Linked DNA regions of Homo sapiens: region 2 is linked to region 1. Evidence: promoter capture Hi-C in 16 types of primary human blood cells and fetal thymus (Javierre and others, 2016). All regions are on one chromosome and are shown on one strand. The core of a region is centred on a gene start or on the middle of the fragment in contact, and the rest is flanking DNA. Distances in the headings are between cores, read along the strand shown.

Region 1 (5,932 bases), core at 1,372-3,871:
TTTCTAAATAGAACAGAAAACCTTTGGCTCAGAAAACTACGATGTTCACGTAGGAAAGTTTATGCTTCTTTACTAAAATATATACATTTTGTTCTAATTCAGAAATTTGCAGATAACTGAAAAGAACAACAAAATTGGATTAAAGTGAGTGGAAATTTTGCAGATCAAAGTAAAGACTGCTCCCACAAAGGGCAGCCTCATTTCCAGAATGGTTTCTGGAATATCTTGTACAAACTTGAAAGAATTTCGTTTTATTCCCCACTGTCATCTGATTAATCATAAACATTACCCAAAACACTCATTACATTCCATCATTTCTGCATACAACAGTAAGCAAAACTGCTTGTTTTCAAAATGCCCTGAAAATTAATTTAAATACATGTTTAATATCTATTGTCAGTTTCTCTGATGGTGTCAAAGCAATTTTAAGGTTTCATTCTCATTATCGTGCCATCTTAGATTGGTGACTCTCAATGGGATGAGAAGTGGGTGGGGGTGAGAATTTTGCCTGCCAGGGGACACTTAAACAGTCTGGATACATTTTTGGTTGTCTTTAGTAAGACATCTTTGGTTGCTTCTTTAGTAAAGAAGCATCTGGGGGAGTGCTGCTGGCATTCTGGGATAGATGCAGCCAAACATCTTACAGTGCAGAGGATAGCTTTCCCACACTAAAGAATTAGCCCAAGTCTTTAACAGTGCTGATGTTGATAATCCCTGCCCTGGATCACTGCTGTGGAATAAAACTTTCCACAGTGTTGGAAATGTTCTGTATCTGAGCTGTCCAATATGGTAGCTGCTAACCACATGCAGCTGTTAAACACTTGAAATGTGTTTAAACTTGAAAATTCAGTTAAATTTTGGTTGCTGAAAATATTGAGAACTTAACGCCTCTAGTCGTACTTGATGATTTTCAAAATCAATTAATAAAAATATACTTACTGCAATATTGCTGTGAAAATGAAAATAAAAAACAAAATTTTTAATTTTATCAAATTTTAATAACCACATATGACTGGTGGCTACCTTACTGGACAGCACGTCCCTAGATACTTCTTTAAAAATTTGCGAAAATATCTACAAAGACAATATGAGTGAATTTCAGACAGGATGATTGTTCATGCCTATTTCTTTTTCCATCTATTTTCTGATGGGGCATTACAGAAAGGACCCAGGGACTGATCATAAGGACATGGTTTTAGATTTGTTTATACCACTGACCAGCTGTGAGGCCTTGACTGTATGGCCTTAACCACTTTTAACTTCTCTTGTCTACAAAACGGATCAGAGAGCTCTGAAATTCCTTCTGGAGCTAACACTTTATAGTTTTGTCATTCAGCTTTCAATTAACTTGTAGTATACTACTGAAGTAGGTCAGCAATAAGTTAATAACTCCATTCCTTTCCTTAACAATTTGTTCATATAGATTTATTTTGCAGAAAGTTTACAAAAGCTATGGTAAGTGTGCAATACAGAATACTGAACTGGTAACTATCTCCTGAGAGGCAGGTAAACTGCTAGAAAAGATGTGGATTAGTACATATGAGTCTCTGTGCAAAGTTTATGTACTATTATTTCTTTCTTGGAGTACTAATATTTATGTAAATATATGGCAACTGCTTCTAATCGGTGTGAACTAGTGAAATTAGATCATCTGTAAAAATCAAATATATGCTATAATGACATAATACTCTAAGACATATCTCAACTATTTTTACACAAAACATACTGACAAAAAAATCCTTATAACATGAGCACATGGATAAATGTAAAATGTATTAAAGTAGAATAACAGAACCGAGATTCAATTACCACAAATACTTTCCTAGGTTTAATGTTCTTCTTTCTGATGTACCCGATCCTCCTCAGGTTAGAAAAATCCTTTCACCAGATAAAAAGCCGAAGAAATATTGTAACTTAAAAAAATTTAATTAAGTCTACTTAATTCATGCCCTTTGTGCCCAGCTGGGAGTTATCAGGTATTTATATTTTAAAGGGATTGATGTTTAAAGACATGCTATTGTTCTCTTTGAAGCATTCGAGCGCTCTCAGAGGCTGGGTTCTAATGCAACCAGCATGTGCTCTCCTGCAGCCCATTAACCTTTAATACTTGTCACTCAGCTGCTTACACAGGAGGAGTTTTTTAAACCCAGAGAGGAAACAAGGTTATTTAGAAGGAATCAAATGGATAGTTTTACATCTCGAATGTTAAACAGAAGGCAGTTTTTATGTAATTCAAATGGGTAAGTTGAAGAAGCAAGGTCAGCTACTACAACTTAATTATTAAATTAATTAAACATCGTATAAAATAATTTTGAAGGAAGTTAAGTTTACTTATCCATAATAAGAAAGTCATGGGACTTTTGCTGTCAACTAAAATATCAAGCGAAATTATTCTAAATATAATTTATAACAATGCATACTGCTATGACTATGAGTTCTCAAAAAATAAGAATTTGTTTCTAACTTTATAAGGATCAAAGTTCTAAGAGCTTGGATGCTTATGTTGCTTATTCCCGAGGAGGAGGATGTGGATGCACCCCCATGTGTACGTAAGGACACACGAGCTAAAGGCTTTACCTGACCCAGTAAAAGTGTCAAGCGCTCCATCTCCAGTCGTGGCTGTGGTTTCACTGCTGTTCAAGGGCTCTGTTTTGACTGCAAGAAGAGACACTACGTAGAAGAATAAGTACATGTGAGTTTTACTTCTAAATTTATGTCAAAGACTCTGTCCGTTCTACTAGTGATATTTCTAGCTACCATGGGCATGCAAGAGAAAACCTGAGAAGTTGATGAAGAGAGTTTGTTAATTTAGCTTCTAAACGGGCATGCATTTAGAGGATTTAATCTAAAATCCTCTGGCCAAGCTAGTTCTCTCAAATCCAGCTTTTAAAGGCAGTCAGCCTTAAAAAGTGAAACAGCAGTACACATATTTGTATTTTTAATTCACCTAAACACACTCTCATATAGTCAATAGGAAAGAAGGAATCATCATCAGTCTTCAGCACATTTAATTAAAATTATACCAAAGAAATTTACTAGCTTATATTTTATTTTTCCCAGGAAGATATTTTTTAAGTTTGCATAATAATACAATGGAGACATATAAAAGTATAGAAACCATGGGCTCATTCACACAATGAATGAAAAATGAAGCACTCAATGAAGCTCTAAAAAAGACTCACGAGCTATAAGGTGTTGGGCTTCATACTTTAATGGCATAACAATTTTTAATATGTTTAGAGATAAGCGTAGAAAAAGAGATGACTTCTACAGCAGCAAGTACACCTTTTGAAAACTCATTTTAATATGTTATTTCTACGTGGTAATGGTGTATTTTGGCAAAATCTTTGCTTGGTAACAAAGTGGCCTAGTACACATTATTATCATTATTAGATGCAACAAGGGTGATGGGGCGTGAGAATAAAGTTTTACCCATTTGGTCACACCATATTTTCCCTTTGTTGGCAAGGCTTTACTACATATATCATAGCAGCAAGGAAATAAACTAAGCTATTTTCTACTTAACACCTCTTGTGTTTCCTGGTCATAAGTGAAATGAATGATACAGTTAAATAACTTAGAAGCAAGCAGAAAATTATAAAGAAGAAAGCTGAAGACTAGCCAAAGGACAAAAAAGAACAGTCAGTCATAGGGTACCCACCAATCACACAAGTCAGTAATGTTATTCTGTTAGAAAAGAAATTAATTGATAGAAAACCATGCGGTAATGATTATGCTCTTTTCCACATGAACAGAATTAACCAGACCTTCAGTGAGCTCTGGGTTAATTTAGTATCCATTATTTATTAATGACATGATCAGCTGGAAGATTCAGAGGAGAAATGTAAATGTTGGAAACAGAAAGTAAAGAAACTTGGATTACTTTTCTTAGCAAAAAAGCAAACTCAAGTTTGACTTATCTTTCAAGAGCAACAATGATCTGAAGAGTAGTCTAATTATTTATATAATGATAAATAATGAATTGGTGGTTATTACTTTTCAGTAGTAATTTGCACAGTAATCCCTATTATGGTTATACCTTATCAATAACTAAACCTATCATTATAAAATCATTTTATCACCTTTATATTTACTACTATAAAACTAATACTTATTGAGAGCTTGCTACGTGCTAGATGATGTACATTTAGCTAATCCTTAAAACAACTCTAATTAATACAAATCACTATAACCATTTTATAGACAAGGAAACTGAAGTTCAGGGGGGCTGAAAAGCCTGCATAAGTTCCAGTGCAGGAGACGGTAGAGCTAAGATTTGAACTCAGGTTTTTAGCTCTAGTATGCAGGATCTTTCCACCGTATCAGGCTGCCTTCAGGTACGAAAATAGCTTATGCTCATGACAGTGTCTCTTCTCAAAGGCCCAAAGCATGATGAGAATGCAATTATCTCCTAGATAGAATAATTAAAAATACTTCACTGAAAATAAAAACTGCAAAATACTGGAATAGGATACTAAGGCATGTTTCCCATTTCTTCCTCATGGGATATTTTAAAAGACATCAAGAAGTAGCAAATTTGAAATTAGGTAACAGTAACAGCACACCCTTAAAATGAACTTGATACATTCCAGGCACTTCTCTTGTCCTTTACACCTACTGATTTACTCCTCTCAACAGTCAGTAGATAATATCATCATCTTTATTTTTCAGATAAGGAAACTGAGGCACAAAAAGGTTAAATAACGTCCCCAGTCACAAAGCTTGTAAGAGCTAGAATTTGAGACCAAGTAGTGTGTGTTCAGAATCCAAACTCTTAAACCATACTGCCTCTCAGGCAGCACTAGCTAATCAAGAATTCCTTTTGTCTGTATGAAGATAATGCAGAGTATAATCTAGATGGGTATCAAGGCTACTCCATTTCACGCAATGTTTACAATTGAGTTCTAACATTTATGACAAAAAGTCATGGCCCAAAGCCTTCAGCAAAACTAAGAAACAGTTTATCAGAGCTTCTGACTTCTACTTGCAGCTAAATTCCTATTTATGCATATCTATATCTACGAACAATATTTGCAAAAGTAGCTTTATTATACTAATTGTAATATAGATTTTACTTGCGAATGGAGGTGGCAGAATGTGAGCTGTGTCTAACGAAACTGGTCTAGAAGCCAGACATGAAGATTAGTTTTGTTACTTTGAATTTCAACTTTGAGACCCAATTTCAAAAGCTTAGTATTGATTTTGATTATAATCTCTTCAATTTGAAAGTTTGGGGAGGTCAAAAGGAGAAAGAAGAAGGAGAGAGTGAGTTTTTGGTCTAATTCATTATACTGGAAACATCTCTCATTAAAATTTTAAAGGTTTGCTTTTAGTCAAAGATAGACAAAGGAAGTTCATTTTACTGAGAAAAGCCATCCCTGGGAAAGTATATGAAGAGAGGAGTAACAAGCAAGATGTGTTAGCTTTACTAAAATGCCTGAATTTTAAAGTAATGGATGCTAACATTTGAGGGGAAGTGGTACATGTTAATGTAAAATTGTTTTTCCTATGCAAGGGTAGAACAAAATGGAAAAGTAGAAATAAAACATTTATTCTGTCACAGAAAATAAGCTGCATTCATACTAAGTGAGCATCAACAAGCACCTCTTGATCTCTAAGTAAGTCCCAAAGTTATTTTGGTTTGATTTTTCTAAATAAAAAGCAGTAATATTAGGTAATAATAAACAACTATTTTTTCAGCAGTAGAAAGCTCAAATAGAGAAGTGAATAGACACTCCTTATATTATTAGCTGATTTATTAAGACATGTTAGAATACGAAGAAGTATTATCTTGATATTTATATAACAGTTAACTAGTATAAAGTAAACATTATATAATAATTATAGATAAAGCTTGGAAAACAACGTTATTTTCACTGAAGCTAGAAATATATTTGAAATGTATTCTTTTTTCTTTTATCTTGCTTTTGTT
Region 2 (5,932 bases), core at 911-3,410, 270 kb after region 1:
CAGGGTTTTTTTTTTTTTTTTTTTTTTTGCCTTTTTATGAAGGATGGGACAGAGCTGTCACTTTATATGAAAACAAGAAAGAGGAGGTCAGAGGTGTTTTTGATAGCAACACAAAGGACCTTTATATGGCTTTAAAAAGGATTGCAGTGTTAGAAGTCGAAGACCTTGGGCTTCCATTGGTTTACAGCAGTCATCTTGACCTCTCTTCTCTCCTTATAAAGGGGGCAATGGAAAGGCAGCAGGGAAGAAGGAAGAAAAATTTAGAAAATATTTTAGAAAATAGGACCTTGAAAGGAAATTAAAAATCTGAATTCTGCACAATAAGAAAATCCTGTTCACTGAGCCTGTTGAACAGTTATCAACAATTCTTGAGAAAATTCTAGCAGTTTCTATGTGGAGCCAGTTGCTTTCTAATTGCTACAGCAGGCTACCACTGGGAAGAACAAAGGAAATATTTAGCACATCATAAATTCTTCTGCTGCCCCGTAGAGTGGCTGGAGTTCAGATTACACATTTATAACTAGCATTTGAGAGCAATTTCTCCTTCACTTTGAGAAAGTTTTTGGGAGGCACTGTTCCTCCTACGATTCTGGAGGAATACAGACCCAGTGTTTAAATTTAACAATCCAGTTCATTTGTGTTGGGATATGGTGAAGCTTGGAAAGATGTAACAGTGAAATACATTTTCCCTTCCCGAATTTGCTTTTTAATGGAAGTCGATTTCTCAGTGACTGGGAAAGTGTACCTCAGATACTGGTGAGTTGTTTTGACAGCTCTCCGACCTGGGTGGTGGTCTTCTCTGAGGACCAAGACTGAGACAGAAGAATAGGCAGGACCTAAAAATAGACTCAGTTCACACAGTGAAGACAGCAAGTGGGAGAGAGGCAGTAAACATGTTTCATGTGGAGTGAAGAAGCTGTACTACAGAGCTAAGGAAGAAACCACCACAATCCAGTAATGACAACAAGAAGCCACTTGAAGCTAAGGAGTCAGAGGTCAACTGAGATGGACCTTGCAATTGCATGTATTTTACAGCTGAGGTACATGAGGGTCTGCAGTGTCTGACTTGTCTTTGCCTTTGGAGAAGATAGTTCAATTCTCTACAGATTTTGATGGGCAAGTTTTCTTAGCAAATAGAAAGACCTTGTCAAATAATTGGATGGTTTATTATTTATGAGTTGTCTCCACATTTAGGTCCTTATGACTGGCCATAGCCATAGGAGTATGTTGTAATTCTTCACCCAGATGATTGATAGAATATAGGAAGCCATTCTCCCCCATGACAGTAAGTTGATGTTTCACTCCAATACGTGGTAGAAAAGGCTGAGATTCATGTCTTTCCAATGAACGAAAAATGTATGCTATTTGTACTTGTGCAGCTATATTTCCTATTCTCCCCGCCCATGGAAAAGAATTGATAATCTTCTCACTAATTTGCCTTAACTTTTACTTGTGTATTAGCTATATTGGGGAAAATTTTCCAAATAAAATTGAAAAACCAAAGAAATAAAAACTAGATAGATTTTCTATTTATATGAGACTTACTCCAAGATACAATTTCTATAGATTTGAACCACAGAGCAGATTTTGTCTTTTTCAGGATGAACCTAAGCCATAACCTCACTATCTTTTCTACCCAAATTTATAATTGAAGCTTCATTTTGGTTTTATAGTGAAACATTACTGAAAGTTGGATAAATTTAACTTACGGTTTTGCTGTATAAGTAGATAAGCTGACTAAATTGAATAAGGCAGCTATTTAGTTGTCACATTTGTTCATTTAATGTTTACAGTTTAACTTCCAATATCTGCTATAATTTTGTCCACCTATCTGTTGCTTGACATGGCTGAATTTCTTGAATTTCTCGAATTTCTCAATTATATTTTCCATACAGCCCATACCTCAGTAGGAAAGAAATAATCTCTTTGTTTACACAGCGTATTCTCTGAACATAATCTAGTTAGGTAGTAAAGTTTGTTTGTTTGTTTGTTTGTTTTGGAATCTAGCATGATAACAAGTGTTAAAGGCAAATTAAAAATGATTCTATACTTTTACAATATCTGATTTTCCTGCACCATCATTCAGATGCACATATGAACTGCAAGAATTTATATCATGTGCACACCATTGCTTGAAAGCAAAAAGACTAGCCATATGTTTGTAAAAATATATACATATCTTAATAAATTTTCAATATTCAAAAAAATGAACAGAAAATTAGTGAAATGTATGGAGTGAGGAATAAAATAAGAATATTCGCTAACAGCTTGTCAAGAAATATGATGTTTGTGAATCTACACTGTCAGTTGATTTTCACAACAAATATATTATCTCTATGCAGCCAAAAGATTTCTAAACTCAGCCAGTGACTCGCTTACTTGAAGCAACACTTGACACAAACAAAATCCAATACAACCACTCTTTTGGATTTCATTTTGATAAAATTTATTTCCTATTCATAGGCATTGATAATATTGGTCTAGAATAACCAGATGCCTATGGAAATTTTGTTGAATAAGTAATTAATTACTATTTAAACTACACACTCTTACTGACATTTTAGTAACTCCAAGAAATTCAAGTATTTAAAAAACGAGCACAATATAAGAACAACCTCCAATAAATGTAATTCTAAGAGGGAATCTTTTATTGTTGTGAAGCTTATAAAATTGAAGGTCTCATGTTTTAAGAAGATAAAAAAGGAATTCTTTCTCTGCTGTGGAATAAATGGACTATCTCACCCATGAATAATGATTAACGTCCTTTCAGTTGGAGAAAAGCCTCCTAGGAGTTCACACCTGCAGCATTTGTGAATTACAGGCCCCCTTCCCTTGAAAGAAACTTAATAATCACTATTCACAGGTGAAGTGTGCTTCAGTTGGATATAAAAAGTTGAGATAAAACCCGTCTGCTTTGTTTCCAGTGCTGTTATTTTCCCAGCATTCCATCCCAATCTGTCACTGCAAAAATACTTGAGCAGCTTTAAAGTTATCCAAAGGTGATGTTGTAAATACCTTTTCTTTTCAGCTTAGTTCTGTGTTTATCAGAAATTCAAAGGTGGTTTTAAAGGTCAGAAAAATAAGCTGCCTAAAAACTTGGATTGAAACCCAAGTAATAAGGTCGGCATTTTTACAATCGTACTCTTCTTGTTGCCATCTAGGTCTAAACTGCCCTTCAGTTTCTTCATTTTGAACCGAAACCTACCAAGTCTGGCCATATAAGTATACATTTAAATAAGAATATAACTATAAAGTATAAGTTTGCATATAAGTTTGAGTGTAAAATTAAACGTACGCAAATGTAAATAAGAATATAAATGTATTTTTCCAATTTGACAGAAAGGGTTTTCATTATTCTTGTTTCCGTTTTAATCTAAGGAAGATGGTTATGTCATCTTCTCTCTACTTAGAGGTCATGGATAGCCCCACATGTCATCTACAGTTTGTTCACATATTTTCTTGGCTCACAGGATGTTTTTAGAAATGTCAAGCTATAATTTAAGATCTAGAAAATTTTACATTAAAAAAATCTAAATTTTGCAATTACTTAAAAAGTCTTCAGCTCTGGCAACAAACACTCCACTTGTATCCCCTCATGCTAAAAAGCTGACTGAAGCTGAGCATTGGCTGCTTTCTGTAGATCCAGCTTCTATCCTTTTTTTCAAAGCTACATGACTCATTTACTGCTTCCTCCCTGAACCCTGAGTGTGTGATCCTAGAAAAACCAAGTTATCATTCTTTCATCAGCCCTCATCTTTTCATATGGTTACTATTCACTAGCCAAACCGACCATAACTGTGTTTGAGTCTGCGCTTATGAATAGTTAGGTTTTAGTAGTGGAAATTGTGGTTTAGATATGCATTCTTTCATTTCTTGACTTTTAGACAAGCATTATATGAAACACTGAGGATGTAAAGATGACAAGGCAATTCTACCTTCAAGAAGATTACAATTTAGTTGGAAACAAAGAGATATGCAGTAAACACATAAATAAAACTTGCAAGTGCAATGATTAGGTATGGTAGGGGAATTAGAATGTGTAGAAGAAGGTCACCTGACCTAGGCAGGATATGGAAGACATGGCAAAGTTGAGGGGAAAGAGGGATAGGTTCAGATTTGGGCAGAGAAGTCTCTGCTGGGCCTTAGAAATTATGTAGGAGTTGGGGCAGCCAAGGGCACTCATGAGGAACAGGGAGTGAGCCAGTGGTTTGGTATTTCTCTTCTTTTGTCTTGGATTTATTTATGATAACCTGCTCTTTAACTTACATGTTATGCTTTTATTAAAGAAAACAAGAGTACTCAATATGCAGACATTCTTATATTTAAACTATCTATCAGCTATTTCACCACACGTTTTTTTTCCTCTAGTTCTGAATTCAGCATTATTTCTAACACTGTGATACTTTATGAACATTGCTCAAAAACAAATTTTACCACTGTAAGTCATATATTTTCCAAATACCCATCTACACTTCAGACATCATCCTTAGATTTTCATCTATGACCAAATCTGGAGAGATTTTAGCTCATGTATGAGAAAAAGAAAGAAAATAGAAACAAAAACTGTTTAGTAAAATGAAAACCCACCCCCACCCCCAACACGCAAAGAACACACAGAAAGAAACCTTATACAGAAATGCAATTTGTTAGGAGCTAACGTTATTAGCCACCACTGAGATAAGCAAAATTGATCTCAGACACAGAAAAGGAGGGGGAATAGTTTTTTCAGTGTTTTCTAATTGAATTTTAATATTTGATAATAGCAAACATTTTGTTTTGATGAAGCCAAATTGTTCACTAGTCTTAAGATTACAAATTAATTACATTTAGGATTACAATAAAGAAGAATGCCTACCAAGTAGAAGCAATAAAACATTCTAATGTAACTGCAGGGTTAGAATTATTATCTCATAAATAATTCATTTGTGAAATGCAATTTTTGTTCCTCTTTTAAAATATAAAATTAAAAAAGTAAGTGAAGGTCTTGTGGGTTTGTCATTGGTGTGTATTTAAAGAATAGTAATAGTTTTCTCATCTAACAGAAATGAAATCTGCTAATGTTGGGATATCTGGATTTTTTAGATTATGTTGTCTTTTATTTGAAAAGAAACTTAAGCTATAAAACACAAGAGAAAGTGCTTAAGTACCTTCACACATATTCTTTTCAGTAAAATAATGTCAGCCATCAAAAGCCGTTTCAAGTGCAATCCGTACAGTAATAGTTAACTAGATAAGTTCAAGTTGGCAGTTCTTGCAGTGAGTTCAGCTTCCAACTGTATTACCATTCCTCATTTCTTTGTTAGTTGTAATAGTAGGTTGCCAGGTTTTTTTCTTTCAAAAGCTTATAAAATTCATAGTTAAGAGGCAGGTCTATGAAAATTTAAAACCAAAGGAGAAGATGAATTCAAAAGCAGCTGCTTATGGAGTTTTATTGCAATATTTCACTGCAAGCCATGATGTCTTCACAGCAGCTTCATACTTAAAAGATTCTGAAAGTTGATTGATTGTTTCCAAACTGCTACATAGTTTTATTTGATTAACCATGTATATTTTTGCCAATATGTCTGGCTACCTATTTAAAGTTAGTGCATGGCTGGCAGTATTACAAAAACAGATTTTAAGGATTGGAATCAGATTTGGCAGTAAAGGATTTGGTTCCAAACTCATAGGTGATCTTAAAATTTCATTTGACATAAAAAGAAAAACTTTTCCAGTCAAAAACAAAAGATTCTACTTTCATTGAAAAAAAGCTTCTTGGCTGCCAAATATGTTTATTTTTCTTATGTATTTGCTCTATCACTGATTCCTCGGAAGAAAGAACCTCAAGTGATACTATTTTAAAATATACGCACATACACACAAAAAATTTAATCAAGATCTTTAGATGTGAAGTAAAAAGCTTACTCCTTTAAAGTAAAGAAAAAAAAAAAGA

What was found. Contacts are between HindIII fragments. The CHiCAGO score rates a contact against its expected background, and 5 or more counts as called.
Region 2: a fragment that was not itself captured here is called in contact with the fragment with the promoter of EYA4-AS2 in region 1 in 1 of 17 cell types (erythroblasts); the score reaches 5.0 in erythroblasts.

What each region holds. Positions count from the first base shown.
Region 1 is chr6:133,453,294-133,459,225 of GRCh38, reverse strand. It overlaps EYA4-AS2 (EYA4 antisense RNA 2), which reads left to right and starts at 2,621. Exons shown (of 3, transcript NR_199014.1): 1 at 2,621-2,692; 2 at 5,564-5,618. EYA4 (EYA transcriptional coactivator and phosphatase 4) reads right to left here. Exons shown (of 20, transcript NM_004100.5): 6 at 2,578-2,670. The HindIII fragment of the contact is 6,300 bases long and covers 1-4,723 here.
Region 2 is chr6:133,186,044-133,191,975 of GRCh38, reverse strand. No RefSeq gene overlaps it. Among named protein-coding and RNA genes, the nearest start is that of EYA4, 52 kb to the left of the region's middle. The HindIII fragment of the contact is 1,007 bases long and covers 1,657-2,663 here.